3 separate regions of the Homo sapiens genome follow, and all the other regions are linked to region 2. Evidence: promoter capture Hi-C in human tissues and cell types (Jung and others, 2019). All regions are on one chromosome and are shown on one strand. The core of a region is centred on a gene start or on the middle of the fragment in contact, and the rest is flanking DNA. Distances in the headings are between cores, read along the strand shown. Region 1 overlaps NFXL1 (nuclear transcription factor, X-box binding like 1). Region 2 holds the start of CORIN (corin, serine peptidase). Region 3 overlaps CORIN (corin, serine peptidase).

Region 1 (3,574 bases), core at 1,003-3,502, 41 kb after region 2:
AGTACAAAGGGTCTAAGAAAAAACAAATGTGGAATGTTCAAGTAACAGGATGAACAGAGGCAGAAGTGAGTAAGCAAGAGAGTGATGAGAAGTCAGATGAAAGTTGGGAAAGATAGTCAGGAGTTAGATCATTACTGAGCCTTTACAGGCCATTGAAAAGGATTTAAATTTTGGTCTGAGAGTGACTGAAAACTACCAAAGGATATGGAGCAGAAAGATGATACTTGATTTAAATTTTTTAGAAGATTAATCTGGCTGATGCAGTAAAACAAAGTGAGTAGAAATGTTGGTTAGGAAATTACTGCAGAAATCTAAGTCAAAGGTAATGGTGGCTTAGATGAGGGTGGTAGTGGTACAGGTTATGAGAAACTGTCAGATTCAGGATCTATTGATGACAAACCTAACAGGATTTTCTGTGGGAAAAGGACAACAAAGACAAGAAAGAAATCAAGCATGATTCCTATGTCTTTGATCTGCACAACTGGGTAAAAACGGTAAAATGACTTTCTGAGATGGGAAAGACTGAGCAAATATTAGGCAGTGAGTAACAAAATATGCAAAAAGAACCAAAGTTCACCTAAAGAGTTTATTTCATTTGCTCTTCCTATGTGGTACACCTACAAAAATCTTCTATTTAAATAACATGAGTAGAAGAGCACATTGGGCTGGGAGTTAAAAGATCAGGCACAGTACTTTCTGATTTGCTACTCTCCTGTTGCAGAATCATGGACAAATCACAGAGCTTCAGTTTCCCTATCTGCAAAACAAAGAGTATACTTAGAATATGAGCTCCTTCCAGCTATGGCAGAAACAAAAAAAATCACTGAATCTACACTTACTAAATTATCTTCCTGGATCACTTCCAATATCAAGTTCTATCTTCTAGGAAAGACTATCTTAGTTAAGAAATACAGCAAGTCCATCTGTCAAATATCATACGCAGTTCTCATTTAAAAAGAAAAACAGAAGCTTTAACCCAGGAAGCAATTTGGGGATAATCCACAATAAATCTCTAATAGTCATATCAGCTTTGAAAATAAGCTTTTTCTGACTCACTCCGTATTCTGGAAATCTGGAAGAGGGAAGCCATACAGCAGCTACACCCTAACTAGTTAAAATGATTTTGTATCATTATTTGTTAGTTTGATTTTATAATTCTAGCATCTTTTTTGTTTTATCATGAGTACATTTTTGAGGGTCAAGGCATGGATCAATGAAGAAATTAAAAGCAATACATTTACACATGTTTGCACATGAAAAAGAAGAATACCTATGTTGTCATGTATTATAAATTAAAGACCAAAAAAATAACCTAACGACGCAACTAAAATTTTCAATAACATAAGTCATATTAATAATTTAAATAGTTGTAAATTTAATGTTAATAATAAAGTGACACTTAAAATTTTCTGGCCTATTTCTCATTTAGACACTAGTATTACAACTCCCTACAGAACGGAAGTCTAGAAAAAAATTATTTTAAAACTAAAGTTTAACACTAGCTACATTTGTTTTTCCTTGTAAGATGACAATTTTCAGAGATCTTTGAAAAGCTGAGTTCTCATACACTTGTAAAATGCTTTTAGTTAATTATACACACAGAAACACTGCTCATCTGTGATGCCATTTATTTTACTTTTAACAAAAGATTGGGAATTTATTTAAATTTATTAAAATTATGAACATCATCCATCCTGTGTGTCAGGTTTGAAAACTAACTTAGAGTAAATGCTCTAAACTCAGATATGAACAGAGAGAAATGGAGGTGATACTCTTACTTACTATCTAAGAAGATACATAACCTATGTATTTTTATCATAAAACCATATCCTATGTATTAACACAGGTACAGTATGTAAAGGGTTCCACATTAAAAGGCACATTATTATGAGCTGGAATAAAGACACAGAACTATACACACCAAGCTGTCTAAGGCCAGCTGTCTTAGGAAAGGAAAAGAAGGAGAAGGGATGAGGGCAAAAAAAGAGACAGGAAGCTAAAGCAAAACAGAAAAATATTTATGGTATAACTGTTGAAAAAACGTTTCAAGAATACTATGGGCAGATATACATTCAATCTAAGAACATTACCTTGTTTTTTCCAGTGCAGCCATCAGTTTTGGTTACTTTGTGGCATTCTTTCATACATGTGTGATTCTGACAATCCAAGATTCTTCCACAAACTCTTTTACAAGAGTAGGGTCCTACAGCATGGCATGGTAGTGGACTCACCTTAAAAAATAAAGGAAATCAGCACAGCACACATTACTCAAACGTTTCTGGACATATTATATGTTTCCAAAATTACTCTGCTATCATTTGAGAACAAGTTTCAGAAAGGTATAAGTTTGCACGAATAATAATAATATCAAAATCAAAGTAACCTGTCAAAATATTTCAAAGTAATGAATGCCAAGAAGCAAAATGTTCTCCTCCTAAAAGGAAAATTCAATATGATTCTGTAGTGAATGCATATCCACAGGCTAATTCTCAAATAAAGGCACTACATATTTTTTAAATTAGTAGATAAACTCTTGTACTCTTTATAACAGTAAAATAACAATACTTTGACTTTGTTATTTCTAACAACTCTAGTAAAGTTATACTAGTATGTAACAGTATAGATTATAAGCTTTACTTAAAAATTGTGCCTGTAACTTACCTCATGTTTCCCAAGACATTCCCTACAAGGAAAAAATAAAATAAAATGAAAACATTACAAATTATTCAAAAATAATACCTAAAGATGCTAACTCTACTAGCATTAAAAAAATAAATACATATGGAATAAGCAATTATAGTAAAGTTACAGGACACGAAGTTAATATACAAAGGTCAACTGATTTCCTATATAGTAGCAATGAGCAATTAGAATTTGAAGTTAAAAACATAACACTACATTAGCACAAAAAATGAAATACTTGGGTATGAATTTAACAAAATATATACAAGATCTCTATGGGACAACTACAAAATACTGATGAAAGAAATCAAAGATTTAAATAAATGAAGCAATATTCCATGTTCACAGTTATGAAGGCTCAAAATTATTAAGATGTAGTTTATTTCCAATTTGATCCAGATTCAACATGATTCCAATCAAAATCCCAGCAAGTTATTTTGTATATATCAACAAACTGATTCTAAAGTCTATATAGAAAGATAACAGACCCAGAACAGCCAACACAATACAAAAGAAAGCAAAGTCCAAAGACTGACACCACCCAACTTCAAGAATTACTATAAAGCTACAGTGATCAAGACAGAATGGTACTGATTAAAGAATAGGCAAATAAATGAATGGAAGAGAACAGAGAGACCAGAAATGGAACCACACAAATCATAGTCTACTGATCTTTGGCAAAAGAGCAAAGGTAATTGAATGAAGAAAGGAAATTCTTTTCAATAAATGATTCATGCTGGAACAAATAGACACCTGCTTGCAAAAAAAACCTAGGCAGACCCTAAGCCTTTCACAACAGTTAACTCAAAATGAATCACAGCTCTAAATGTAAAATGCAAAACTATAAAACACAGACAATCTGGGTAATTTGGGTTTAATTATGACTTTTAGA
Region 2 (3,716 bases), core at 1,012-3,511:
CAGCATTATGAGGAAGGTTTCTGATGGAATGAATTTTGCATCTTTTAAGAAAGTGTCTCTGTACCTGGATATGTGCTTGATAAGGTTAATAGAGCAATTCTTGGTGTGTCTTTTTAACCCACAGGAAGGTTAACAGAGGCTTTCATCGTTGGTCCTGTAAGCCTACCCTGAAAGGAACTTTCTGGAAAGAGTCCCCTCCCCCTTAAAAAATGCCTTATAGAATCTTGGGGTTTTGAGGTTGATGTGTTTCCACACCCAAATAACCCCAAAATAGTTCATCCTATTGAAATTCTTGGTGTCCTGGAAAGCATTCTATGGAAAACCTGCCTGGTCAGCCAAGCCCACACGTGAGTCTATGCAGACATCTCCTCTAACCTCGCAAGCCCCAGGAACCTCCTCTAACCTCTCAAGTCCCAGGATCTGAGGACCAATTTTTAGCACAATCTCACACAACAAACCTATTGGGCACCTAATAATAGAAACAAGCTAATGAATGTTTTGACTGTGACAAAAAAAAATGGTTTAATAACTTTTTATAAATGCATTGTTTCTTCTCATTGTCTCAGGGTTATGCCAAAATTAATTTCAAAACTATCTGCTTAAATGTGTCCTTGGACAATAATCACCAGTAAGTCCTGACTTCACCCCCTTTCTGGTAGCGGTCTGACGTTCCTTTGCAGAGTTTCGCTTCCATCGATAAGTTACTTTAAATAAAAAGTTAAAATAAAAACTAGAAGCCACAATTGTGCCTATGTCAGTCATCGAAGTCTTGTACAGGAGTCCGTCTTCGCAGCGCATCGTTCTCAGAAGTTTCCCGCGGGAGGAAAGCTCCACTTTATGAATTACTCGAACAGCTTCCCTGGGAATGCCCAGCCCCGAAGCTTCCCTGCTGAATTCAAAGTCAGAGCTCCCAGGGCTCGGTCCCAGGAACCGGGAGCCGTGCAAAAAGCGCGTACACTGCCATCCACTGGCCCCGAGCAGGTAGTAGCAGGAGTGAGGCGCCTGCCACGGGAGCTCAGGAACTGGGTCCCAGTAAGATCCGACAAGACACCACCTCCCTTCCGCCCGCACAGCCTGCCCTCTCTGCCTGCAGCTAGCGTCACCGGTCGGTCCCCGATTCGGAGCAGCTGGGACCCTCGCGGTAGCAAGCGGATTCCGGGGCCCTAATGACACCGAAGGAGAGGGGCAGCCGCAAATTAGACCTTCTTCCTGGGGGCTCAGGCCAGTAGGGACTGTCCGTGGTGCCCTTCCCTTTCTTTCTCCTCCTGAACGAGAGCCAACGCTGCCCCTTCCCAGGACTGGATCTGAGCCAACCAAATCCTACAGCGCAGAGCCTGCGCCCCCGGCGGCCAGCCCTCCTGTGCCTAGGCAGGTTCACGCCGGAGAAAGTTTGCACGCAGGGACCTACAAGTTCCCAGCACTCTGCAAGAGGGCCAGTTCTGGGATGCCAGCACTTAGGACGGGCGAGTGATCCCCAGGCACCAACTGGGGGCCGGGGAACCAAGCGCGAGCCCGGGCTGTGGAGGGACCGACACCCAGGCGCTCGCAGCTGGGGAAGGGGGCTTACGTCTGGGGCAGGCAAGACTGCTGCACAGTCCCTCCAGCCACCCGGCGCCCGAGACGCCGGCGCAGACAGGAAGCTGTAGATCCCCGAGGGGCTGGCTCCGACAGCTCCACCTGCAGCCTCCCCTGCCGCCAGTGTGCAGCCAAGTCCACTAGATGCTTGGAGGGCACCGTGCGGAGGAGGGACTCTGCAGGAAAGGTGGCATCACCCCCGGCATGGAGACCGGGGTCTCCGGATCGAGCCGACTCGAACACTGAAGGAAACCCTGCCCATGACCCTGGGAGGGTCTCGGACGCCGGGCGACCGGGGTGGTGGTCGGGACCAGGGCCGTGCGCCTGGGAACTGGGTGCAGGGCGCTGAGCGCGGAACTGTCAGAGCGGGAGCTCACCGGCGGCTGGGGAAGGAGGTGGCATCGGGCGGAGGAGAGGACGGGGGCGGGAGGGGCTGACCCTGAATTCACCGGGACTAAGAGGCCATCACACCTGGCTGCGGTAGGACAGCGAATCATCGATCTTACCGGCTTTGGGGACCCGGCTCTGCGGCAGCGCTCTTCCGGAGCGAGGGCAGGAGACTGTTTCATGGATAAAAAGTCTCGCTTATTCTTCTGTCCACTTTTATCTTGGTCGCTTTTCTCTCCTCTACGTGTCCCCCGGGGAGGCACTACGGATGATTTTCTCCAAGCTCAAGAGAGACAAACTGAACTTTAAGCGCCAGGGGCCCCATATTTTGTCTGCTCTACAGATCCCACCCGCGGGCCACACCCTCCCTTCACTCCCGTCTCTGGGTCCCACCCATAATAACCCGTAATGACAGATCCTCCGTGTCCCCACCTCTTTGCATTCAAAGAAGTTATTCTTCAGGGGCATATGGAAAGTCAGTTTCTGCTGGTCTCCCTCAAAAACTTACACTCCACGAGGGCAGCAGAAAAGGACAGGACGATTAAGTTTAAGTTGTGGAAGACTGGTTGGGAGCAAAAGAGTTACTTTTCTCCAAATTTGCCATATCACATCGAAAGCATTTTCTTTTAACCAGAGTGTAGCCAATCAAAATTAACTGCAGGCGCTGGCAATTAAAGAACAAGTTTATCTCAAAAAAGGTTTAACGTTTGGAGGCCATTATTTGCATCAGGCATATGGAAACTTGCGTTCTGTTAGGTATGCTGAAGAAACTGCTTTTGCCAGACTGCCTGAGTCTTTGCTGAGGCTGCAGGGACAAGGGAGAACCCCACCCTGACTGCTTCCAAAACCCTAGTTCCTGATTTCCTGCAGAGGGCACCTACAGGCTGAACCTAAAAGGCGAACAAATTCCTGCCTGTCATTCAAAAGCAGCTACCTTTTCTAAGGCAGCGTCAAGGAGGGCACTGGAGGTACTCAACACAGTAATGATTACTTTACCAAGTCCAAGGCAATTGTCAAATGTGGCAAAGAAAAACACTTCATTGGGTTTTTCTTAGAAATGATTTTTCATCCAATTTCAATCAAGATCTTAATGGAAATTTTGAAAATTACTCATGAGGTTATTTAATAAATCCATCCCCATTATTTAAAGAAAGCCATGTAAAGACAACAAAATATGGGCCAAGCACTTGTTCTTGAACATTATTGCTGAGAAAAAAATATGCATTTGTAAAATGGGGGGGGCAGTATTTTGTTTCTGAAGTGAGATCAAATGTAGAAAATATTGCATATGTATAGTAAAATGACTGAAACACTGATTCCATGTTATTCTAACATCCGATTTGTAAACCAGTATCTGACAAATTTATCATAATTCACAATAATTCAGTTCATATTATGTGGCAGGTGTCATACTAAGCACTTTACATGTATTCTTTCAGTTCCACCAACTACTCTGAGGAAGAAGCTATTATTTTTATTTTAGAGATAAGAAAGCAGATTCAGGGAGCTGAAGTGAAGTAACCAGCCTACGCAAGCTAGCAAGAAGCTGAGCTGGGATTCCCCCGAGGCAGTGACTTCTGGATTGTGTTCTTACTAAGATACTACCTCATCACACACCATCACCGCAGTGCCAGTCTGGGAATCAAGAACTGTGAGCAAATCACATAGTCTTTCTGGGCCACAGTTAACTCAGCCTATAACATAAGGGCTGGATTCAATTGCTAAGGTTTCTACAGGCATTCTGAGGCCAAGTA
Region 3 (3,803 bases), core at 567-3,066, 57 kb before region 2:
TCGAGCACAGAGGCTCACGCCTGTATTCCCAGCACTTTGGGAGGCTGAGGCAGGCGGATCACTCAAGGTCAGGAGTTTGAGACCAGCCTGGCCAACATCCTTAACGGGTAAGAGATTTACCAGATTTCAGATATCTAATTAGACTCCCTTTCTCAAACTCTCCTCTAAGATAGTTGCCTGATGAGTAGTAATCCAGGTAAAACTCCAAGGCCTGCTCTGATCCTCTTAGCTGCATATTCTTTTTTTTTTCTTTTTTTTTTTTCTTTTTTAGATGGAGTTTTGCTGTTTCACCCAGGCTGGAGTGAAGTGGTGCGATCTCGGCTCACTGCAACCTCCGCCCCCAGGTTCAAGTGATTCTCCTGCCTCAGCCTCCCGAGTAGCTGGGATTACATGTGTTTGCCACCATGCCTGGATAATTTTTGTATTTTTAGTAGAGACAAGGTTTCACCATGTTGGTCAGGCTGGTCCCGAACTCTTGACCTCAGGTGATCCACCTGCCTCGGCCTCCCAAAGTGCTAGGATTACAGGTGTGAGCCACCGTGCCTGGCCAGCTGTATATTCTTGTAGAGCTCATGTTAAAGCTAATGAAAACATCTCATGTTAAAAACATAAAACTAAGAAGAAAGAACAACCTAAGGGTTTTGAATTGGTGCGTAAGCTTTCTACACCCAGTAACTTTTGGGTATGAGTTTAGGGCATTTCGGTCCATGTCTAGTTATCAATGTAAATAAATCACTGCAATTTAGACAGCATCATGGTCATCATCCAAATCATTTTTTCTTCAGAAAGAAGACTATGTAGTTCACTGAGGGGGAAAAAGCTAGATATAAAGTGAATTCCCATTATTGGGGAAATGGTTGAAATAAATTATGGTATAATGACAACATGGAATACTATTTAGTCATTATAACAATAGATTAGAATTAAGCTATTGCCTTGAAGATACTAACTTGAAGTATTCTTGGATGGGAAAGATATTTTGTAAAAAAAAAAAAGTAATAAAAACAATGACCCAAATCCTCTATGTGAATATTATCCTGTGTACATGTATGTGTATATGTTCATATAAGATTGTAAGAGGATGGAGAAAACTATAAAATCATACATATTTGGCTATTAGGTTCTTCTTAGGCAGAGGAAAGGAGAAGAAATGAAGGAATTTATGCAAAAATGGGAAATAAAAACTTCAATTACAAATAACATATATATCATAATCACATTCATACATTATATAAAAGAGAAAAATCAATTCCCCATATTGAAGGAAATGAAAAAGAAGAAATCAGAGTGAATAAATAAGGTAAAAACAATTGAGGAGTAGGAAATAATCCCAGAACAGCAAAGTAAGATCCTCCAAAAATCTACTCCTCCACAAAAGCAGTGAAAACACTGGGAAAAAAAACTGTCAAAGTTAATTTTTTTTTACTAGAGAGCATCTGGAAAGATGGTGGGATAGGAAACACCAGCAATCTGTCTCCCCACCTAGACAACAATTGCACTGGCAGAATCTGTCTGATATAACTATTTTGGAACTCTGGATTCTATTGAATGTTTGAAAGTTTCAGAGGTGGGACAGAGCAGTTAAAGGAACAGAGTTTTTGTTTGTTATTGAAGTTAAACTGGTATAAATTCAAGTTAGAGTGCTGTAACTTTAAGATGTTAAATATGATGCCAATGGTAACCATAAATAAAATAGCTATCGAATATATATATATCCTTTGAGATTTTATATATATATATATGACAAAGGAAATGAAAAAGGAATTTAAACGTTTCAATATTAAAAAAAAAACTAAACACAAAAGAAGGCAGTAATCCAGGAAATGAGGGATGAAAAAAAGCTACAAGGTATATAAAAAACAAATAGCAAAATGACAGAAGTAGGTCTTCATCAGTAATTACTTTAAATATTAATGGATTAAATTTTTTCAATCAAAAGACAGAGATTGGCAGAATGGGTTAAAAAAACCATAATCCAACTATATGCTGTCTACCACAGACTCACTTTAGATTCAAAGACACAAATAGGTTGTAAGTGAAAGGATACATAAAAATATTCCCTGCAAATAATAACCAAAAGAAGAGAGTGGGATGACTCACTTATGATGGTTTGACTTTTATAATTTTTCAACTTTACAATTGTGCAAAAGTGACACACATTTAATAGAAACTGTATTTTGAGTACTCATATAACCATTCTGTTTTTCACTTTCAGTAAGGTGTACAATAAAATACACGAGCTGTCCAATATGTTATTATAAAATAGGGTTTGTATTAGATGGTTTGTCCAACTGTAGGCTAATGTAAATGTTCTGAGCACATTTAAGGTGAAGGCTAAGCTAAGCTACAATGTTCTATAGGTTCGATGTATTAAATGTATTTTTGACTTACAATAGTTTCAACTTACAATGGGTTTATAAGGATATAACTCCATAATAAGTTGAGGAGAATCAGTATCCACAAAATAGGCTTTAAATCAACAACGGTGGCTGGGCGCAGTGGCTAACTCCTGTGATCCCAGCACTTTGGGAGGCCAAGGTCAGGAGATCAAGACCATCCTAGCCAACATGGTGAAACCGTGTCTCTAGTAAAAATACAAAAATTAGCCAGGCATGGTGGCATGCGCCTGTAGTCCCAGCTACTCAGGAGGCTGAGGCAGGAGAATCGCGTGAACCTGGAAGGCAGAGGTTGCAGTGAGCCGAGATCATGCCACTGCACTCCAGCCTGGGCAACAGAGCAAGACTCCATCTCAAAAAAAGAAAAATAAATCAAAAATGGTTAGAAGAAATAAAGAAGGACATTTTATATTAATAAAAGGTTCAATATAAAAAGAAGATACAACAATTGTAAATATTTACACACCTAATGACAGACCGTCAAAATGTCTGACGCAAAAAATTGATAGAACTGAAAGAAGGCCAGGCGCAGTGGCTCATGACTGTAATCTCAGCACTTCGGGAGGCCAAGGTGGGCAGATCACTTGAGGTCAGGAGTTCAAGACCAGCCTGGCCAACGTGGCAAAACCCTGTCTCTACTAAAAATACAAAAATTAGCCAGGCATAGTGGCGTGTGCTTGTAATCCCAGCTACTCAGGAGACTGAGTCAGGAGAATCGCCTGAACCCAGGAGGCGAAGGTTGCAGTGAACTGAGATCGTGCCACTGCACTCCAGCCTGGGCAACAGAGCAAGACTCCATCTCAAGAAAAAAAAAAAAAAAGAAAGAAAGAAAAAAAGACAAGAAACAGACAAATCTACAATAATAGTTGGAGACTTGAATACCCCACTCTCAATAATGGATAGAACAACTAGACTGAAGACAAGTAAGGAAACAGAGAAATAACACAATTCCACTTCTAGGTATAAACCCAAGAGAACCAGAAACGTTTTCACACAAAAACTTGCACGTGAATATTCACAGAAGCATTATTGATAATAGTTTTAAAAAATGTATATGCAATCCTAATTTCCAACAATGGATGACTGGATAAAGAAAATGTGATAGAGCCATATGAAGGAATATTACTCAGCACTAAAAAGAAATGAAATACTGACACATGCTATATCACGGATGCATTCTGAAAACATCATGCAAAATAAAAGAAGGCAGATACAAAGGACCACATATTGTCTGTTGCTTTTTATATAAAAGTTTCAGAATAAGAAAATCCATAGAGATTGAAACTAGATTAGTTTTGGCCAGGAGCTGAGGGAAAGGGGAAATAAGGGACAGGGAATATGCCTTTTTTTTTTGCAATGATGAGAATATTCTAAAATTAGATAGTGGTGATGGTCTGAAATAGAAGA

What was found. The method cuts DNA at HindIII sites, captures the fragments that hold promoters and counts their contacts. A contact is called where the count stands out against the background at its distance.
Region 1: a contact is called between a fragment that was not itself captured here and the fragment with the promoter of CORIN in region 2, in 1 of the 25 tissues and cell types used here (hippocampus).
Region 3: a contact is called between a fragment that was not itself captured here and the fragment with the promoter of CORIN in region 2, in 1 of the 25 tissues and cell types used here (pancreas).

The regions. Positions count from the first base shown.
Region 1 is chr4:47,876,435-47,880,008 of GRCh38, forward strand. NFXL1 (nuclear transcription factor, X-box binding like 1) reads right to left here. Exons shown (of 23, transcript NM_001278624.2): 16 at 2,662-2,683; 17 at 2,091-2,231. The region is part of intron 2 of LOC101927179 (a long non-coding RNA gene); the gene reads left to right. Among named protein-coding and RNA genes, the nearest start is that of NFXL1, 36 kb to the right of the region's middle. The HindIII fragment of the contact is 5,360 bases long and covers 1-3,574 here.
Region 2 is chr4:47,835,806-47,839,521 of GRCh38, forward strand. It overlaps CORIN (corin, serine peptidase), which reads right to left and starts at 2,262. Exons shown (of 22, transcript NM_006587.4): 1 at 2,082-2,262. The coding sequence starts at 2,144. The region is part of intron 1 of LOC101927179 (a long non-coding RNA gene); the gene reads left to right. The HindIII fragment of the contact is 9,769 bases long and covers 1-3,716 here.
Region 3 is chr4:47,779,187-47,782,989 of GRCh38, forward strand. The region is part of intron 3 of CORIN (corin, serine peptidase); the gene reads right to left. Among named protein-coding and RNA genes, the nearest start is that of CORIN, 57 kb to the right of the region's middle. The HindIII fragment of the contact is 4,404 bases long and covers 1-3,803 here.